3 separate regions of the Homo sapiens genome follow, and regions 1 and 3 are each linked to region 2. The links are contacts of gene promoters, found by promoter capture Hi-C in blood cells and fetal thymus (Javierre and others, 2016). All regions are on one chromosome and are shown on one strand. Each heading gives the region's core, a stretch centred on a gene start or on the middle of the fragment in contact. The rest is flanking DNA. Distances are from core to core; before and after follow the strand shown. Region 1 overlaps LOC105373785 (a long non-coding RNA gene). Region 2 holds the start of CWC22 (CWC22 spliceosome associated protein). Region 3 overlaps WDR75 (WD repeat domain 75).

The links. The method cuts DNA at HindIII sites, captures the fragments that hold promoters and counts their contacts. A CHiCAGO score of 5 or more calls a contact.
Region 1: a contact is called between a fragment that was not itself captured here and the fragment with the promoter of CWC22 in region 2, in 1 of 17 cell types (non-activated CD4 T cells). The highest score is 5.9, in non-activated CD4 T cells.
Region 3: a fragment that was not itself captured here is called in contact with the fragment with the promoter of CWC22 in region 2 in 1 of 17 cell types (total CD8 T cells); the score reaches 6.0 in total CD8 T cells.

What each region holds. Positions count from the first base shown.
Region 1 is chr2:186,479,553-186,482,252 of GRCh38, reverse strand. The region is part of intron 1 of LOC105373785 (a long non-coding RNA gene); the gene reads left to right. Among named protein-coding and RNA genes, the nearest start is that of ZC3H15, 5.4 kb to the left of the region's middle. The HindIII fragment of the contact is 1,180 bases long and covers 715-1,894 here.
Region 2 is chr2:180,005,852-180,008,551 of GRCh38, reverse strand. It overlaps CWC22 (CWC22 spliceosome associated protein), which reads left to right and starts at 1,255. Exons shown (of 20, transcript NM_020943.3): 1 at 1,255-1,685. RefSeq lists an enhancer at 1,575-2,107. The HindIII fragment of the contact is 3,569 bases long and covers 1-2,700 here.
Region 3 is chr2:189,444,539-189,447,238 of GRCh38, reverse strand. All of the region lies in intron 1 of WDR75 (WD repeat domain 75), which reads right to left. Among named protein-coding and RNA genes, the nearest start is that of WDR75, 4.4 kb to the right of the region's middle. The HindIII fragment of the contact is 172 bases long and covers 1,251-1,422 here.

The DNA.
Region 1 (2,700 bases), core at 55-2,554, 6.5 Mb before region 2:
TTATTGTTTTCCCATAACGCATTGCATATTTTCTTAAATATAGGTGCTTAATAAATGTATATTTTAGTGGTTCTCAAATTATGCTCATATGAAAGAGTTCAGTAGGTTGGACTAAGATGATCTACTAAATTGAATGATGATGTATTTCTAATTAACAGAAAAATATTTTTTTTCAATTTTAAGCTTTTTTCCCTCATAGTCATTCTTAAAAAATTAGTAGATTGCTAGCATTTTTCACCTAGCAGATTAAAAAAAAAAAGAAACAGTAATGGATCAAATATTTCATGTGACTGGAAAACCTATATATTCAAAATAATGTGGGGACATTTATGTAAAATATGGTCTTATGTTACAGTCTTTTTGGTGAAATTAAATTTATTAATATATTTTAAATTTTTCCATATAACACCACAAGTTCCAGGTATTTGCTACCTGAAAACATTTCAGAACCACTGTTTTAATGGATTGAATACCATCTCACCTTATAGCTGGATTTAGTGTCATTTATCCTTGAATCCTAAAACCTTTGAAGTGGGAAAGTTGTTCCTAAAAGAACTATCAAATTAGATTCTTCTTATGAAAGCTAATTTTCCATTTCTCTTTTATGACACACTGTATAAAAGGTCATGTTTTATAGTCAAAATATGTGGGTTAAATTTCTTCCCTTCCACTTATATAGGTGACTTTAGGCAAATTGTTGGACACTGGTAAGCTTTACTCTTCTTATATATAAAAGAGGAATAATACTGTTCCTAGCTCATAGGGCTATTGGAAGGACGAAATGATATAATGCATGTCAGTCACTTATTAGAGTACTTGGCACATGTAAACACATAATTAGTGGATACTACTATATAATTCAGGTCATAGTGTAAAGAAGTAAGGAATTCAGCATTGATACATTAATTTCTAAATGAGCTTACTCCAGTAAATATGGAGAATATAAAATCAGGAGATTGGGTGACTGAATGTGGGAGCTGAGGGGAAGAAGTCAGAAAGTAGAAGAGGATCCAGGTGGCAAGCATGGGCAAGTGATCAATGTGGGTGCCAGGGAGGTTACATAGGCAATGATTGGAATGTGTGGCCAGGGCAAGAAATAACATATCCAGTTTTGGCTCTGCTGAATTTATGGTCCTAGTGCGTCATTTATGTGGCAAAATCCAATGGTATATATTTGACTTGTAAACTCAGAAGAGAGTTTAGAACATGGTGGCCAATGGGAATGGATTACTTTGAAAAAGATTGTAGAGAGCCAAAAAAGAATAAAAATGTGAGGAACAATGTTTAAAAGGTAAATACAGAAAAAGAAGTTTAGGGAGGAAAGTGAAAAGAGGCAACTGTGGCAGGGACCCTAGGGAGAAGAACTTTTTGGGTAGTAGAGTATCAACAGGGCCTGGTAATTTTGCCTTGAGTTGGCTTAAATACGGCTACTTACTCATTCCACATTAGGATGAATCATACTGGACATCCAATTTAAGACATGGCTATCTGAAACAAGTGTATATTTCCAACTCTATTGACCTATATTTCTTTTCTTACATATATGGATACTGCCATCTGCTGATAACTGGCATTTTTGAGGGGTCTTTTTTGTAATTATGACATTGTATTTAAGGTATCGTTTCCCTTGTTCCCTTTTTGGATATATTCTTCCCACAGGTCTCCACATGGCTGACTCATTTTCATCCTACAGATAGCAGCTCAGGTGGCAATTCTTCTAAACAGTTATCCCTGACCACTACATCTAAACAACTTCTACCCTCTGCTCCTAGTTAATATCTATGTCATCATGTGTTTCACTCCTTTAATTTTAGATTTATCTTAATTTGTAATTACTTTGTGTTTTTATGTCTTCATTTCTTACTTGGGTATCTCTTGTCCCAGAATATAAGCTTCATGGGAGCAGGAACCTTGGCTCCCATCAGGTGCCTAATGCAACCTGTCTCTTAGAAAGAGCTCAATAAATGTGCTTTTAAAAATGAGCGATGGTGGCCGGGTGCAGTGGCTCACGCCTGTAATCTCAGCACTTTGGGGGGCCAAATGTGAATCACTTGAGCCCAGGAGTTCGAGACTAGTTTGGCAACATGGCAATACCCCGTATCTACTAAAAACACAAAAATTAGCTGGGCGTGGTGGCACATGCCTGTAATCCCAGCTACTTGGAAGGCTGAGGCACGAGAGTAGCTTGAACCTAGGAGGGGGAGGTTGCAGTGAGCAGAGATTGTGCCACTGCACTCCAGCCTGCGCAAGGAGCGAGACTTGGTCTTGGAATAAAAAAAGATGATGAGCGAGAACTAGAGCTGGCTGAGAGTTCTTGCCCCATTTGTGCTATAAGAGTATATTTAGTTTTGGTATTTATCTTATCTTTTGAATATGAATTTAACAAAATCTTCTGTGCCAAGATGTTATGATCACCCTGATACATCTGGGGATTTTTCCAATAATAATGGTGATGTGCTATTTGTCCCTAAGTCCAAGATTACACAATAAAGGAACAAAATTAATAGATGGCACTTACAAGGATAAATGTCTTTAACTAGGTGTATGCATACATTTGTAGGTGCCTTTTCTTTTGAGTTCCCCTGATGATGCCTCAGCTGCTTGTCATGGAATGTGGGTTTGTAATAGTGGGGAATGGGAAATGGGCAATGTGGAAAGGAAAACGTTGCTAATATATTTACTTGTGCTCTGGACGCGAAA
Region 2 (2,700 bases), core at 6-2,505:
TGCTTTATATTCGATGGTAGCTGATTAGATTGTTCCCACCAGATTAAGGGTGAGTCTGTCTTCCCCAGTCCACTGACTCAACTGTTAATCTCCTTTGGCAACACCCTCACAGATACACCCAGGATCAATACTTTGCATCCTTCAATCCAATCAAGTTGACATTCAGAATTAACCATCACCGGTAGTATTGTGGGTTTTTAAATATATGAATACAAATGTTCATCTCCAGATCCATCTCCTGTGCCCTGTATTGGTGCACCAAAATGCACCATCAACAATGGCCAAATATCTTAAATATGAAATAAAATAGATAACACTATTGTATACTAGCAATTATCTTAAATGCATCTTGTGTATCAACTAATTCAATTCTTAAAACTACTGCCTGGATGGATACTATTGGTATTTCCATTTAACAGATCAGGAAACGGCCACAGAATGTGAAGTTACTTGCCCCAGTCATCCATAAATAATAAAAGGACTCAAGATTCAAAATAAGTAGTCCAACTGCAGTGTTTTTATTCTTAATCATCACACTCTGCCTCCAGAAAGGAGTGGAAGCACAGCACCCTAAAACTGTAATAGAGAAGTGTGTGGAGAAACCAGTCCTGGTTTATGAAAGATTTGATAACATAAAGATATTCTTGGTTTAGGAAGAGAGTTTCCAAAATAGCAAGTAGTTGAACTTTTAGGTTTTGTTACTAGTGAAAAGTGAAGTTTAAAGAAACTGTTTGATGCCCTAGTTCTGCACGCTGTACAAACTGCTACTTCCTACTCAGCCAGGCAATCTCTTTATTCTCAGGTCATACCAGTTGGTACCTTAACCTAAAAGAGAGGCAACACAGTCTCTATAGAATTAGTTTTTCCTCATTATTTCACTCTATTTATGATTTAATATTCTCCCATTCTTATGGCCTGGATATCTTGGAATTTATTAGGCACTTAACTGTTGGTCAAACTCTTATAAAGTCTCAGGAAAATCTCTCTCTTAAGATTTTTCAAGGAAAGTGACAACTGACTGCTTTTTTAAAAAAAATTTCCCCAAAATGCAGTGAAATAGTTTTAAAGTAAATTCGGCTAGACCCTGAACACTACTAGGCTGCCAGTGAGCAGCGTGGATGTTAACTCGCTGGCGCGCATCTGTATGAACTACAATTCCCATCGTACACCGCGCCATTTCACGCTAAACTACAATTATGCTTTCCTCATTTCCGTCAGCACAGGCGCTGGATTTCGGACTTTGTAGTTCATGCCAACTTCTCTTTTTTGTCGCCATTTTGGCAACAAGACAGTGTGCCTGGATCGACTACTTTGACTCTGGTATTATGATATGGTATTTGAAATAAATTAAAGGGATAACGTGTCAAGCCAATTGAGCGTCAAGTTTTTAAATATTTCACTATTCGCCTTCTTCCTACCGTCGGTGCTCGGGAAGAGGAAGTGACGTACGTCCGGTGTAATGGCGGCGCGGTGGAGCTCTAGGTAATTATCGAACTCCGTGGAGTCCCCGCAGGCAGAGACGCGGAGTGGGGGTGGCGGGTCGCCGGATCGGGTGGGAAGTAAAAGACCCCCAGGAGTGGGTGCGGGCTCACTGATACGGCTGTGAGCGGCATTGGAGTGTGCGTGGGTCTTCTCGCTACGCTCGGGCCCGCAAGAGGGGTGTGAGAGCGGCTAGGTCCAAGCAGGTGGGGAGGGAATGGGCTGCCATGAACTGACTGCCTGAGCGGACCGGCTGACCTTCCTTGTGAAGTTCCTGGAGCTGTCTGAAATCCTGCACCAACGCTGGTGCTGTGTTGTTTCTTGTGCACTGCGTTTTATACTTAGAGCCTCTGGAGTCCATTGGGGCTTGCCAAAGCCCCTTTCCTAGTGCCCGGGTCCCAGGGTCAGGGGAGTGGGATTAATGAGATCTAGTTGATTAAAAGTTAGTTGAATTACTTGCACTCTTATGCCTCTTGCCGGCATTATATCCCTTTGACTATTTGTTTTAAATTTCATTAGCGTCTTCTTTTTCATTTATTTGCCCTGTAAATACTGATAGTGTCTAGTGTTTAGTCTTGAAGACACTTCGCTTCTCATGTGCCCGCTTCATCTGTCATTCTTGATCCTTCCATAACTTGAACTATCTCCAGTGAGGTAATAACTGCCAAACTTGGGTCTCCAGGCTCCACCTCTCTAACGAGCTCTGGGTCCTACAACACAGCATTATATAACGGAAATATAATAGTTAATTTCACTGAGTTTAACTGCAAAAACCACGGTACCTATTTCCATTTAATCCTAACAATTCTTCTGAGGTAAGTGGAGAAGGCAGGATTTGGAGAAAGGCTATTCTAGATGCAAGAATTAGGTAAGAGTTTCCTTTGCATTTTTAGATGTGCAGAGACTCGAAATAGCAGATAAGCAAGCAAACTTGGTTCTCAGCAGATCAGTTAACCTACCTCTTATCTGTATTTAGACTTACCTTGTTTTAGGATTGCTTGTGAATTCAGGAGTTAACATAAATTATCATCCTACTATGGAAGGGCAGATTTAAAATTGACATTAAAAGTGTGGTTTTGACCAGGAGAGGAGAAGCATTGTTACAGGCGTTATCAGTAGGTGGAGGAAAGCCACTTGTGTTGGTCCTGGGTGATGGACTAGTAGACCAAAGATTTCTGTTTTATCCAGCTATTATTAGGTCTGTCACTTGGAGCAAGTTAC
Region 3 (2,700 bases), core at 87-2,586, 9.4 Mb before region 2:
GCAGAAATATAAATCTTCTTGTATCTTCCAAGTAAAAAGTATTTGCTCTGTGTCTATTATATTCATAGCAGTACTCTCTTATTTATGGTTTCACTTTCCCTGGTTTTAATTACCTACAGTCAAGATCAATCTGAAAATATTAAATGGAAAATTCCAGAAACAATTCATAAGTTTAAAATTGTATGCCATTCTCAGTAGTGAATTCCCTTGTCTCACCTGAGACATGAATCATTCCTTTTTCCAGCATTCTCTGCTGTAGACACACCTGCCCGTTAGTCACGTAGAAACTGTCTAGTTTATCCTATCCACTATTGCTGTACTGAAGTACTTATGTTCAAGTAACCCTTATTTTACTTAATAATGGCCCCAAAGTATAAGGGTAGTGATGCTGACATATTGTTATAATTGTTCTATTTTATTAGTTATTGATGTTAATCTCTGTGCCTGATTTATAACTTAAACTTTATCATAGGTATGTATGTATAGGAAAACATTTACTATATAGAGTGTCTGGTATTACCTGTGGTTCTAGGCATCCACTGAGGGTCCTGGAACATATCCTCTGTGGACAAGGGAGAGCTACTGTATTACAACACACTAAATTTGTTGCAAACTGGGACCACTACTATCCTATTTTATTAGTTCAAGACACTTGATTTTCACTTGTTCATCTCTTTGAAATTAGAATGCATCTTATAATCAATGGTCTCTTGTAAGTGCTGTCAGCCAGGAGGCATGGTTGTATGAAATGGTATAAGATCAAGAATGTATGAGCAACAAAGCATTTGCGATATATAACCTGCCCTTTGGCTGGAGCCTCTTCTCCATTCCCATGAGTACTTCAGTTCAGAAGCTTAACATCTCCAGCCTGGGCCACTCTTCAGGGCTTCCTACAGTCTCCAGGTACAGTCCTTCAATGCAGCTTTCACAGTCACACCAGACTAATTTTGCAAATTTGACCATATTACTTGCTCAGATAAAGCTAAAATCCTTCACTGTTTTCCCTCTGACTTTAGGAAATGATCTAAATTCTTAAGGCTTTGGTAGTCTGATCCCAGTCTAACTTGAACTACTTTTTCACTTAACACTGTGCTCTATTAAAATAGTTCATAACTCCAACAATTTCCCCCATCCCCCAGACACACCCTATCAATATGAAGAGGTCCTTTAGATATGGCTTCCTTGAGACAGTGGTGGGTAGGGGGCTACTGTTGGCCAAGAAAACTTTCCCTAATTGATTCTGATAAGCTTCCTCAGAAAAAAGGAATATCCTCTCTTCTTGTTTCTCAGCATAGAACAATGGCTTCAATTACTTAAACGCAACCCTTCAAAGTCAACTTTCTCTCCATGGTTTTGCACTCTCTGCTATCTACATAGAACACGTTTTCTAATTACTTCTTTTTTATTTCCTAAGAGTAAGCTTATTTTTTAACTTTTAATTTTGAAATAATTTTAGATTTACAGAAGAATTACAGAGTTCCTGCATACGCTTCACCTAGCTTCCACAAATGTTAGCACTTTACATAAGCACAGCATGTTAGTCAAAACTAAGATATTAACACTGGTACATGACTATTGACTACATAATTTATTTGGAGCTCTTCACTTTTTCCATTAATGTCTTTTTTATGTTCCTAGACCCCAGTCCAGCATACCACCTTAGTTGTCATATCTTCTCAGAACCTTCCAATCAGTGACAGTTTTTCAGTCTTTCCCATTTCTCAGAACTCTTGACTACTGCTTTAAGATTCAGCTCAGAATTTTCTCCCGGAAGCCCTTCCTCATCTTCTCATTCTAGATCAGCACCCGTCCTAATGTGCTTCTACACGACGGTGGGCTTAGCTCCATCACAGAACTTACCACAAGGCATTAAGACTGTCTGTGTACTATGTTTCTCCTCTACCAGACTGTGAGTCTTTGAGGTGAGACACTGTGTTTTCACTTATTAGAAACAATAATAAGTCAAACACAAATGGATTCGAATGTCAGCTTTATTATGTATTAGCTGAATGATGTTGGAGAATTTACTTAACCTCTTTAAACTTCACATCTCCACTTACAGTTAGCCACTGTAAAATGTAAATAACACGTTCTCATAGAGTTTAAGTGAAACATTGCATGCAAATACAAGCTTAGCATACACAGCAAGCACTCACTCAATAGGGATAATACCTTAACCTTGTAGACTGGAAGGTGTGTAATGCACCCACCACAACACCTGTCACATAGGATTCATCTTTGTTGAGAAAGTGAAGAAGTAAGAAATTAGGGATGTTTCAAGTCGGAACCAAGATTTAAACTAGACTCTGAAGGATGTATGATTTAAGGGGTGGGAAGAAAAAATAGCAACATAAGCAAGAGCAAGGAAATGGTATGATTATATACAAGACACAGATAATGTACTTATCTGACAAGCAAAGTGTCTATAATGGGTAGTATCAGGAAACAGTTGGGTAGGAAGAGTTGAGCTATATCAGAGAAGGGATTGAAAGCCATATAGAGGAGCTATAGTTAAGGAGGCAACAAAAAACTGTTAAAAAGTTCAGAGCAAGACTAGAAATAAGAGTTAGAGTAATAATGTTATAACAGTAACAACTTAGGAAAATTGTTACAGCAGCAATACTCAGAATGATCTGTAAGGGAAAAATACTGAGTTTGGGACATTAGCTTGTGGGCAATTTAGGAAAGTGAAAGGCAAGG